Regions from separate parts of the Homo sapiens genome. Here all the other regions are linked to region 2. The links are contacts of gene promoters, found by promoter capture Hi-C in human tissues and cell types (Jung and others, 2019). All regions are on one chromosome and are shown on one strand. The core of a region is centred on a gene start or on the middle of the fragment in contact, and the rest is flanking DNA. Distances in the headings are between cores, read along the strand shown. Region 1 has its middle 45 kb from the start of TGILR. Region 2 holds the start of FAM50B (family with sequence similarity 50 member B). Region 3 has its middle 33 kb from the start of PXDC1.

Region 1 (4,071 bases), core at 1,492-3,991, 110 kb before region 2:
GAAACAGCCTCACCAGGCTAAGTGGGGCCTAAAAGGAAGGTCATTCACAGACAGCGCTGGGCTTGGCTTTCTGATAGCAGCTCCGTGAATCACTAACTAGCTGTCTCCGTGTCGGCAGGAGTTTGCCACTTCTGGAGCTGAGGCTGCTGCTGTGGAAACCCAGCAAGTGCAGCCTTTTTTGCCAGGGCTTGTCCTGACTCATTACTTCGACCACTACTCTCTCCCTTGTCTTACACTTCTGCCCACGCTAACAAGCATCAACAGGGACTTCTACAGGTCTCTGCAGGGGAAAAACTTTTTCCTATATGCTCTTAGGTTCAGTGTTTGGGACTCTGCAGATTAAACTGACAAAAGATAGGTTAACAGGAGAAAAGGCACACAAATTATATGTGATGTTAGTATTTTAATTTTTACATGTGCACAGGAAGGTCTCACACAAAAGGAAGTGAAAACCCAAAAAAGTGGTTAGGGCTGAGAGCTTATATACCATGTTAACAAAGGACAGTAAATTTGTGGAGAAGTGAATAAATGAAAGTGCTTGCGCTTCTAGGAGCAGTAAACCGTGGGAAGGTAAATATATGGGGGAAATTATGGGAAGTAAGTGTTATTTTAATAAGGTTTGCTTATGCAGATTCAGATTGGTGTCTGGTAAGCATCATCTCTTCCTGACATGGGAGAGGACAAGGGGAATATCTTCACAAAGGGAATTTATGTTCTGCTTTTAGGCAGAAAGGGGGCAGGTAGAGAGCTCATCTTGTGTCTGCTGTTTCTTGATTTCCTTCGGCAAAGCAATGTTTATGCCAAAGCGGCATCTTATGGAGTGGCAAACTCTCATCCCCTTTATCTCAAATTCAAATTCCCACAAAGAAAGCATCCCATTGCTTCAGATAGTCACCCTCCTTCTTGCTGAGTTGAGATCTCACATCAGTTCCTCTTCTGAGATAGGGTCTCAGCTCTAAATGGGCTGCCCTTGGGCCCAGCACCTCCTCCTGGAGCCTGGACAGTGAGAAGGCACAGTCTACTTTCTCAGAGGGCCTGTCTGAGTCACACCACTGGGAACTCTTCTCTGAATCAACAGAGGCAGAAACTGATGCCTGAAAAGGTGGGGTGGGAGGTGTTTCCTAGGAGGGTGCCCTTCAACCCTGTGATCTACGTCTCTGAAGCATGTCCTTGCCTCAGTATTGAGAAGTCTGTCTAGTTGGCTTGTTTCTTTCACCTGCTCAAATTGTTTGGGTTAAGCCTGCAAAGCCTGGATTAATAGACACATTTGGCTAACAGAATGTTTACACATATTATCAAAATAATTTATGGTTAGAATTTAAGGTTGTTTGATATCACTGGACACTGAACAAGTGGGCCCCCACAACATAGTGTTTATTTTCATTTTTTCATAAACCTAGATAAATGAATTGCTGTTTTAAAAACAAATACGTAACACAAGGGCAACTGGTATGAAGTTTACCAGAAGTCGCGGTTAGTTAGAAGCTATTATTAATTTTTTTAGAAGTTTGAAGCAAGGCAATGTGGAACATTTTATTTATTCCATTGATATTTATTGAGAATCAACTATGCACCGGGCACTGTTCTAAGCCCTGGAGATACATCAGTGAACCAGATAGACACATTTCTTGCTTTCATGGAACTTAAATAGTATATGTAATCAACCTGTTTTTCCATTTTTTAGAACAATGAAGAGTAGGGCAGGAGTGGAATGAGGGTCAAAAGTAAGCCTTGGAGTCCTGCCCCAAAGTTTTCTAATTAGATTATGAAGGAAAGACCTTATGCAACTAAATTACCCATTTGGGTCAGGTGTAGTGGCTCATGCCTGTAATCTCAGCACTTTGGGAGGCCAAGGCAGGAGATCACTTGAGGCCAGGAGTTCAAGACCAGCCTGGCAAACATAGGGAGACCTCATCTCTATAACAAATTTAAAAATTGGTAGGGCATAATGATGTGCACCTGTGGTCCCAGCTACTCAGGAGGCTGAGGTAGGAGGATCATTTGAGACTGGGAAGTCGAGGCTGCAGTGAGCTGTGATCGCGCCACCGCACTCCAGCCTGAGAGACAAAGGGTCATTTGTGTCCTATTGATATTTGTAATAATTAATGGTCTTGTTGCCCCTTAGGGTTGCTTCCTTTTCCTTTTCCCTCACTCTCATTTTCCCTGACTAAAAAGGAAAAAAACTCAACAAATAACTAGTAGCTGGCATGTTAATTATTAGATCACTTTTAAGCTTTAATAAACCCAATGATGTATGATGAAACCTCAGGCCCCATAGCCTGAGTAGGTACCAGTTTCATCACAAAAGACCCATTGTTGCCTCAGCCAGTGTTCATTGAGTTATGCAGCCCCAGGCTAGCATGAAGAACCCTGCCCTACCTCCAGCTCTGATTTACTTTATCTGAAGCAGATTCATCGCTGCTCACAAAATGAGTTCCTTGCAACCCATTAAAATCCTCAAAGTACAAGGCCATGAATGGGGCACTCCTTCTTGCTACTCTCAGCAAATTAGCAACCTGATTCTAAAATTTATGCAAGACGCAAAAGGCCAAGAAAAGCCAAGACATCCTTAAAGAACTAAAAAATAAAGCACTCGAGAGAAACTAAGACTTAATATAAAGCCACAAGAATTAACACAGTAACATTGAAACAAGAATAGAAAAGAGAGCAATGGAAAAATCAAAGTCCAAAAACAGAGCCACACATATGTAGGTATGTGATCTATGACAAAGAAAGTATTGGCCGGTGGCTCATGCCTGTAATCCCAGCACTTTGAGAGGCTGAGGTGGGCTGATCACGTGAGGTCAGGAGTTCAAGACCAGCCTGGCCAACATGGTGAAAACTCATCCCTACTAAAAGACACAAAAATTAGACGGGCATGGTGGTGGGCGCCTGCAATCCCAGCTTCTCAAAAGGCTGAGGCAGGAAAATTGCTTGAACCCGGGAAGCAGATATTGCAGTGAGTCGAGATCGCGCCACTGCACCCCAGCCTAGGCGACAGAGTGATACTCTGTCTCAAAAAAAAAAAAAAAAAGTATTGTAAGCCGGGCACGGTGGCTCATGCCTGTAAGCCCAGCACTTTGGGAGGCCAAAGCGGGTGGATCATCGGAGGTCAGGAGTTCGAGACTAGCATGGCCAACATGGTGAAACCCCGTCTCTACTAAAAATACAAAAAATTAGCCAGGCGTGGTGGCACGCACCTGTAATCCCAGCTACTCGGGAGGCTGAGGCAGGAGAATCACTTGAACCCAGGAGGTGGAGGTTGCAGTTAGCCAAGATCGTGCCATTGCACTCCAGCCTGGGCAATAAGAGCAACATTCTGGCTAAAAAAAAAAAAAAAAAAAAAAAAGAAAAAGAAAAAAGAAAGTATGGTAGACTAGTGAAAAAAATACATTTAAAAAAGTAATGGTGCAAAGTCATTTGAACAACTATATAAAAAAAAGAAAACCTTGGAACATATACCATCTACAACAATCAATTTCAGAAAGTAACTTTAAAAATAAATGTTTAGGTGGGCCACAGTGGCTCATGCCTGTAATCCCAAAACTTTGGGAGGCAGAAGCAGGCAGATTGCTTGAGTCCAGTAGTTTGAGACCAGCCTGTCCAACATGGCAAAACTCTTTCTCTACTAAAAATACAAAAATTAGGGGAGTGTGGTGGCGTATCTGTGGCCTCAGTTACTCAGAAGGCTGAGGTACAAGAATTGCTTGAACCATGGAAGTGGAGATTGCAGTCAGCCAAGATTGCACCACTGCACTCCAGCCTGGGAGACAGAGACTCCATCTCAAAAAAAAAAAAAAAAAAAAAAAAAAAAAAAAGAATATGAATGTTTAACAAATAGCACATAAGAGAAGATACATTATTTTTATAATATCAAGTTAGAGGAAGATTTCTTAAACAGATCACCAAAAAAAAACAGTACTTATAAAGAAAGAGATTGGCGAATTGGACTACATTCAAATTAAGAATTCCTGTTTATCACCTCTATGCATACAAACTAGAAAATCTAGAATAAATGGATAAATTCCTGGACACATATACCCTCCCAAGACGAAAGCAGGAAGAAATTGA
Region 2 (3,749 bases), core at 457-2,956:
GTGCCTCCTATTCTAATTTCTGTCTGACAGTGGGCCCAGTCATGGTTTCAATACAGCTCAGCAGAGCAATGCAGCAAATCCAGGTGGCAACACTAAAATACTCAGAAAAGACCAACCAAGCAACCAAAGCATAACATCAGCAATAGCACAACCAATGTGAATCATGAGAACCCTCTGTCTTTATTAAATTTGGGGGAAGAAATCAAGGTCACGAAATCAAGTGACTGGTGATGGGGCCTAGAAATGAGTGTCTCCCCCCACCCCCGGTTTCCGCTCTGGCAGGCGGGTGTTAGCGGATGGTGTACTTGTCCCACTTCTTCTCGGGGTCATAGGCCTCCCAGCGGCTGGCGGGGAAGATGTGCTTGTTCTTCTCGTACCAGCTGCGCAGCACCACCTTGCCCGCGTGCGACTCGTCCTTCTCCATGGTGGCGTCGCTGAGCAGGCGCACGTCATCGTGCACATCGAAGCTGAAGAGCGGCCCGCTCTTGCCCCTCGCCCTGGCGATGATGAAGTCGTAGAAGGTGTGGTAGTGCGGCAGGATGAGGTCCTCCTTGATGAACATGAGCTGCTCCACGCCGGCGGAGCGCAGCTCCAGGAAGTCCTTGCGCAGCCCCTGCAGCGCCTTCTTCAGGAACTGCTGCACCGTGTTGCCCTTGCGCACCCGCACCGTGCGCCGGTGGCCCGAGCCGTCCCAGTAGCTGAAGGTGACCTCCATCTCCTCGTCCTTCACTTTCTCGCGCTGCGCCTCCCACTCTTGGCGCAGCTCCTCTCGGAGCCGGTTCTCCTCCTCCTCGCGGTCGCGGTCTGGCAGGAAGCTGGTGTCCACGTCGGGGTTCTTGCCCAGGTTTCCGGCGCGCCTGGCCTCGGCCGCGTCGGCCTGGTCATCGAGGTCGTCTAGTGCAAAGGACAGGCAGGAGATCTTACGCTTGCGCTCGCGCCGCTGCTCCTGCTCCCGCTGCCGCTCCTGCTGCAGCCGCTGCTCCTCCAGGTGCTGGCGCTTGGCCAGCTGCCGCTCGCGCTCCCTGACCAGGGCCTCCTGCCGGGCCTTCATGTCGTTCAGGGTCACCAGGCCCACCGTGCTGGACTTCAGCTCGGCCTCCACGGCGTCGTAATGCGCCGAGAACCTCTTGTCCACCTGCGACTTGAGGATGGTCTCCTCGGCGATGCGCTGCTTCAGCACCTCCATCTGCTCCCGCTGCCTTTCGCGCTTCTTGAGGAGGTGCATGGCACGGCCTGCCTCGCGCATGGTGCCCTTGTACTGCGCCATGGCCCGCGCCTACCCGATGGGCTCTGCAGCAAAGAGGAAAAACGCGGCAGGTAGAGGGGGGCCCACGCAACGGCGGGGAATGCTCAGCTCTGCGCCTCCTCACAGGGCTTTCGGCAGTGATGGAAGCGTTCAGGGGCTGGGCCGACCTGCTAGGGTAACCACCAACCTGACAGTGTCACCAGGCACCAATTTCCAGCATTTTATTTGACCTCAATAAATGCAAATGCGAACGGCCCCACGTAACGGGTGGCTGCCATGCCTGAGCGCAGCGCTGAATTTGGGGAGCTGCATACAGAGAGGGTTGGGCTACTGAGCGGACCCTTACCTGCCCAAGCACCCTGTCGAGCGGAGACACGCGGGAGCTGACCTCCACGAGAACCACCCACGAGCAGAGGCCCACTCGCCCCGGGCTCTCGCGACAGCCGTGGACACAGGAAGTGGAGGCGGTGCGCCCCCTGGCGGGGAGGCGGGCCCTGAGGAGAGTGCCAGGCTCCTGGTAGGGCGGCTGCGGAAACAGGAAGTGGAGGTGGATCGCCCCCTGGCGGGGAGGCGGGCCCTGGGAAGAGCTCCGGGCTCCTGGTAGGGGCGGTGCTCCTGTGGGGCGGGCCAGCGCGGGGAGGATCCTGGAGGAGGCGCTTCTGGCCCTGCCCAGCCGTGGCTGGCCGGGGCTCCTGTTTTCACGCTGTGGGCAGGGCGGGCCCCCACCTGCTGTGCGTGCGTGCTGAGCCTTCTCGTGCCCAACTGTAAACACGCAGAAGCAATGTGGGCGCAGCGCAAGCTGCTGTGGCCACCCAGAGAGCCTTGCAACACGGCCCTGCTCTCCAACCCTCCTCCTCCCGCCTCTGATGCTACCCCGCTGTGGCGTCTCGTGAACATTACCTGCGCACCACTGCCTGTAATTCTTTCTTATGGCCCCAACACAACCATTCTTTGATAATAGAACCCTACTCGCCCCCCAGTTTCGTGACAAAACCTGCACTCAGCTTGTTTGACCTCTTCTATACAGCAGTTTCCCCCGGGTTCTAAGCTCTAATAACCATGGGACACTGAGTTAAAGTGTAGCAGTGTCTTTACTGTGAGCCTCTAACATGCCAGTTTCCACTGTAACTCTCCAAGAGCAGGGCAGACCAGTTCATGTTTCGTGACCGTTTCTCCCCTGCAGGAGATCTGGTAACACTCGCCGAAACCAGTGCTTCCTGGGACCTAGTTTGGAAAAGCTGGTTGTGAAATACATACTGCGGTTCAGCCTCCTCCCGCCTAAGAGCAACAATGCCTGTGAGCATAACCTTACCAAGAAGCGTGAATCATATGATAATTACATATGGCACCCACATATCCAGAGGAGAACAGCACGGTGTGAGCCCTCATCAAATTGTCCAAGCCAGAAACCTAGGCCTTTTCCTGGAATGACGTTCCTCCACAGGTAATCAATTACAGAAGAGCCTTTCACACTTTCCTTTTTCTCCCATTCCCCACCACTTGCCTTAATCTAGGAAATTAGCATTTTTTTTAATCTAAAGCCTTCTCATTGTTGCCCCATCACCAGAATACAAGAATATCTTATTTTATTGAGCTCTGGGATACTGTGTGTTTTGTTTTTGTTTTTACAAATTGAAGATTTGTGGCAACACAGCGTCAAGCGCCTACTGGCTCCATTTTTCCAGCAGCATGTGCTCACTTCGTGTTCCTGTGTCACATTTTGGTAATTCTTGCAATATTTCAGACTTTTTCATTGTGATATCTGCTATGGTGATCTGTGATCATCGTTCTGTGAGGTTATTGTAATTGTTTGGGGGCACTCCGAAGTGTGCAGTAGAAGACAAAGACGTTTATTGATTTAACTGATAAATGTTATGTATGTTCTGACTGCTCCACTGACTGGCTGTTCCTTCATCTCTCTTCCTGTCCCTAGGCTTCCCTAGTGCCTGAGACACAGCAATATTGAAATTAGGCCAATTAATAACCCTACAATGGCCTCTAAGTGTTCAAGTGAAAAGAAGTGTCACACGTCTCTCACTTTAAATCAAAGGCTAGAAATGATTCAGCTCAGTGAGGAAAGTATGTCAAAAGCCAGGATAGGCCAAAAGCTAGGCCTCTTTTGCCAAACAGTTAGCTAAGTTGTGAATGCAAAGGAAAAAAATCTTGAATGAAACTGAAAGCGCTTTCCTGGTAAACATATGAATGATAAGAAAGCAAAACAGCCTTATTGCTTATATGGAGAAAGTTCTAGTGGTCTGGATAGAAGATCAAACCAGCCACGACATTCCCTTAAACCAAAGCCTAATCCAGGGCAAGGCCCTAAGTCTCTTCAATTCTGTGAAGCTGAGAGAGGTGAGGAAGCTTCAGAAGAAAAGTCTGAAGGTAGCAGAGGTTGGTTCATGAGGCTGAGGAAGGAAGTCACCTCTATAACATAAAGTGCAAGGTGAAGCAGCAAGTGTGATGGAGAAGCTGCAGCAGGTTATCCAGAAGATCTAGCTAAGAG
Region 3 (3,724 bases), core at 136-2,635, 64 kb after region 2:
ACTGCACTCCAGCCTGAGTGACAGAGAGAGACTCTGTCTAAAACAACAACAACAAATAAAAATAGGAAATTCCATGAACAAAATTAAAAGTGAAAAATGACACCAAAGAAAATTTTTGCAAGTGAAAAGTGACACCAAAGAAAAATTTTGCAATATACATGAGTCATAAGGTTGCTGTCCCTCATTTATAAAGAACACACATATATCGAAAAGCAAAATATTAACACTTACATAGAAAAATGGTAAAATACCCTGGGGCAGAGATCAGCTCTCCACCAAAACCTGCTTCCCTTTCTCTGCAGTCCTGGCCTTACGCTGGGTCAGCCTGCTCAGGACACTATGTTTTCTGTGTCTCTTGGAGTCTGGTGTGAGTTTGAGGTTCAGCTCTCTCCAGTGGAATGTGACAAAAGTGGGGTGCATGAATTTTATGTCTGGCCCCAAACCCTGGTAAGCAGGTTATAAAACAGTTAAATTCCATTTCCAAAACTTAGTATACAGTGCTGTCAGCACTTTACTGATACGAGCTCATTCCATCCTAACAACAACTCCGTGAAGCAGGAGAGGATCTCCCCACTTTAGAGATGAGAAAGCTGAGGCTAGAGACAAAGTTCACTCTGTGGCATGTGGTCTATTTCTGCATAGAAATGACGTGAAATGTGATACACACTAAAACATTACAGTGCTTATTTCTGAATTCTGACTACAAATACTGTGGTACATATGTTTTCTCAACAAACGTACCATCTGTAATTACACGTGAAATTTTTAAATAGTAAAAAAATTTAAATGACAGCAAAATAATTAGAGTTTTATGGACACTAGATTGCACAATTTAAGACAGTCGGCCAGGGCCGGGCACAGTGGCTCACGCCTGTAATCTCAGCACTTTGGGAGGCCGAGGCGGGTGGATCACCTGAGGTCATGAGTTCCAGACCAGTCTGGCCAACACGATGAAACCCTCTCTCTACTAAAAATGCAAAAATTAGTAGGGCGTGGTGGCGAGCGCCTGTAATCCCAGCAACTTGGGAGGCTGAAGCAGGAGGATTGCTTGAACCCAGGAGACGAATGTTGCAGTGAGCCGAGGTTGCACCACTGCACTCCAATAACTTTTAAGAGGAGTAGATTATATGTAAACCATCCCCATCTCCCTACTTTTTTTTGGTAATTCTAAACACAGAAAACACAATTTTGTCTGCCAAAATTGTAACCCAAGTGTATTAGTCCATTCTCACACTGCCGTGACGAAATACCGAGACCAGATAATTTATAAAGAAAAGAGGTTTAGTTGACTCACAGTTCTGCATTGCTGGAGAGACCTCAGGAAACCGACAGTCATGGCAGAAGGCAAAGGAGAAGCACGTACCTTCTTCACCGGGCGGCAGGACAGAGTGAGTGCAAGCGGGGAAAGGCCAGACGCTTCCGAGCCCGTCAGATCTCGTGAGAGCTCACTCACCATCACGAGAACAACATGGGGGAAACCGCCCCCATGATTCAATCACCTCCACCTGGCCCCGCCCTTGACCCTTGAGGATTATGGGGATTATAATTTGAGGTGAGATTTGGGTGAGGACACAGAGCCAAACTGTATCCCCAAGTCTGAAAGCTTTGAAAGGAGGACAGAAGGGCTGACAATCACTGGGAGGTCACAATCCACCCTGATCCTTCTGTCTAAGTGATATGGAACTGTGCCCCATTTTAAACCATCCTGCCTCCCAAAGGCTCCCACAGTGTCTTAGACACGCAACAGAAGGTGCTCGGAACTGGATATCCCTTGGCATGACGAAGTCAACAGCACCGCTGCCGGTTACAGGGTGACTGTGGTGAACGAACAGTGCCACTGTCACGGGAAAACACTGGGCACCGCTCTGTATGACGGAACGTGACCCTCTGACTCACATCCACCTGTGATAGGGAGGCCTACCTACCTGGGCTGCCCATGCCGGCCGCTGAGCTTGTGACAGATGCACCTATACTAACAAGTTCTAAATCAGCAAACTTTTTCTGTAAAGTGCCAGAGAGTGAATATTTTAGGCTTTCAGGCCATACAGTCTCTGTTGCATCCCTGCCTCATAGTGTGAGTGTGGTATGGCTGTGTCTCAATAAAACTCTCTTTTTTTTTTTTTTTTTTTTGAGGCAGAGTCTTGCTCTGTCACCCAGGCTGGAGTGCAGTGGTGTGATCTCGGCTCACTACAACCTCCGCCTTCCAGGTTCAAGCAATTCTCCTGCCTCAGACCCCCGAGTAGCTGGGATTACAGGCATGTGCCACCATGCCCGGCCAAATTTTTGTATTTTTAGTAGAAATGGAGTTTCACCGTGTTTGCCAGGATGGCCTTGATCTCCTGAACCTTGTGATCTGCCTGCCTTGGCCTCCCAAAGTGCTGGGATTACAGGCATGAGCCACTGTGTCCAGCCAATAAACTCTTTTTACAGCCGGGCACAGTGGCTTATGCCTGTAATCCCAGCACTTTGTGAGGCAGAGGCAGGCGGATCACCTGAGGTCAGGAGTTCGAGACCAGCCTGACCAACATGGTGAAACCCCATCTCTACTAAAAATATCTTTAAAATTATCCAGGCATGGTGGCACATGCCTGTAATCCCAGCTATTCCGGAGGCTGAGGCAGGAGAATCGCTTGAACCCGGGAGGTTCAAAACAAAAAAACAAAACAAACAAAAACAAAAACTCTTTTTACAAAGACTGGCCCGACAATTCATCCACCTAACCGAAAACCAGTTGCACCCCAAAGGCTATTGAAATTTTAAAAACTGGCCAACCTTCCATGGTTTGCCACACTGTGATACACTTGTGCCCTTGCCCTCCAAGGGTGGCACCTGGATCAGCAGCACCAGCCTCTCCTGAGAGCGAGTCAGAAACGCGGAAATCACGCCCCTCCCCAGACCTACTGAGTCAAGATGTGCGTTTGAAGAAGATCCCTGGTGATTGGTGTGCACATTACAGTGTGAGAAGTCCCGGCGGAGAGCAGATGCTCAAGCCCAGCCGCTCCTTGGTATCTCCTGGGGAGGTTTAAAAACATACTGATGCCCTGAGATTCTGATTTGGTACTGGGTAGAGTCCAGGCACGGGGATTCTGGAAAGCTTCCAGGATTGTCATATGTGGTCAGAAGTGAGACTAAATAGAGATGGTCACCTGAACATACCCAGTGGTGACTCAATGATGAAAACACTGCCTCTCAGAAAGATGGATAAAACACTCAGCAGCCCTGGCTTGGCTGTCGAGATGCCCATTTGTTTCTACCTTGCCAGGGTGCTGGCCTGCACCCAGCCCCAGGGAGGGGCCCCCTGCCCACTCGTGGTCTCCTGAGCCGGTTCTTGTGTGGCTTTCACAACCAGTCCATGGAGGACAGAGAGTCCTGGGAGCCAGGCCCAGCCACGTGCAGAGCAAGAAGCCAGGTGCTGTGATTTAGCTCCTGGAGACCATGGAAATACTTAGATGTCATTGATCCAGATAGAATGGATGACTGTGAAGTCAGGACAGATCATGTGATCAGAAAGCTTAACCCTGAATTTCATCACAGAACATATTTATAAAAAGAACAAACACGAAGCTGCTGGACGCCAGATGGAGTTCTTTAGAAATTTCCTGGGAGGAGGGTGGGGGTGGGCAGTCATCACAGCACATGCTGCCGTGGATCTGTTTGGGGGACCACCAAAGGCGAGGCATCCGTGAGAGCTAAAGATGCATTAGGAAACAGGATGCCACTTGTG

The links. The method cuts DNA at HindIII sites, captures the fragments that hold promoters and counts their contacts. A contact is called where the count stands out against the background at its distance.
Region 1: a fragment that was not itself captured here is called in contact with the fragment with the promoter of FAM50B in region 2 in 6 of the 25 tissues and cell types used here (H1 embryonic stem cells, IMR-90 fibroblasts, aorta and 3 more).
Region 3: a fragment that was not itself captured here is called in contact with the fragment with the promoter of FAM50B in region 2 in 2 of the 25 tissues and cell types used here (pancreas and spleen).

What each region holds. Positions count from the first base shown.
Region 1 is chr6:3,954,500-3,958,570 of GRCh38, reverse strand. No RefSeq gene overlaps it. Among named protein-coding and RNA genes, the nearest start is that of TGILR, 45 kb to the right of the region's middle. The HindIII fragment of the contact is 7,045 bases long and covers 1-4,071 here.
Region 2 is chr6:3,847,330-3,851,078 of GRCh38, reverse strand. It overlaps FAM50B (family with sequence similarity 50 member B), which reads right to left and starts at 1,706. Exons shown (of 2, transcript NM_012135.3): 1 at 1,593-1,706; 2 at 1-1,290. The coding sequence starts at 1,267. The coding sequence ends at 290. It overlaps LOC107986557 (a long non-coding RNA gene), which reads left to right and starts at 1,713. Exons shown (of 3, transcript XR_001743931.2): 1 at 1,713-1,763; 2 at 2,430-2,690. RefSeq lists an enhancer at 1,523-1,642 and a silencer at 1,913-2,032. The HindIII fragment of the contact is 6,203 bases long and covers 1-3,749 here.
Region 3 is chr6:3,782,778-3,786,501 of GRCh38, reverse strand. No RefSeq gene overlaps it. Among named protein-coding and RNA genes, the nearest start is that of PXDC1, 33 kb to the right of the region's middle. The HindIII fragment of the contact is 7,817 bases long and covers 1-3,724 here.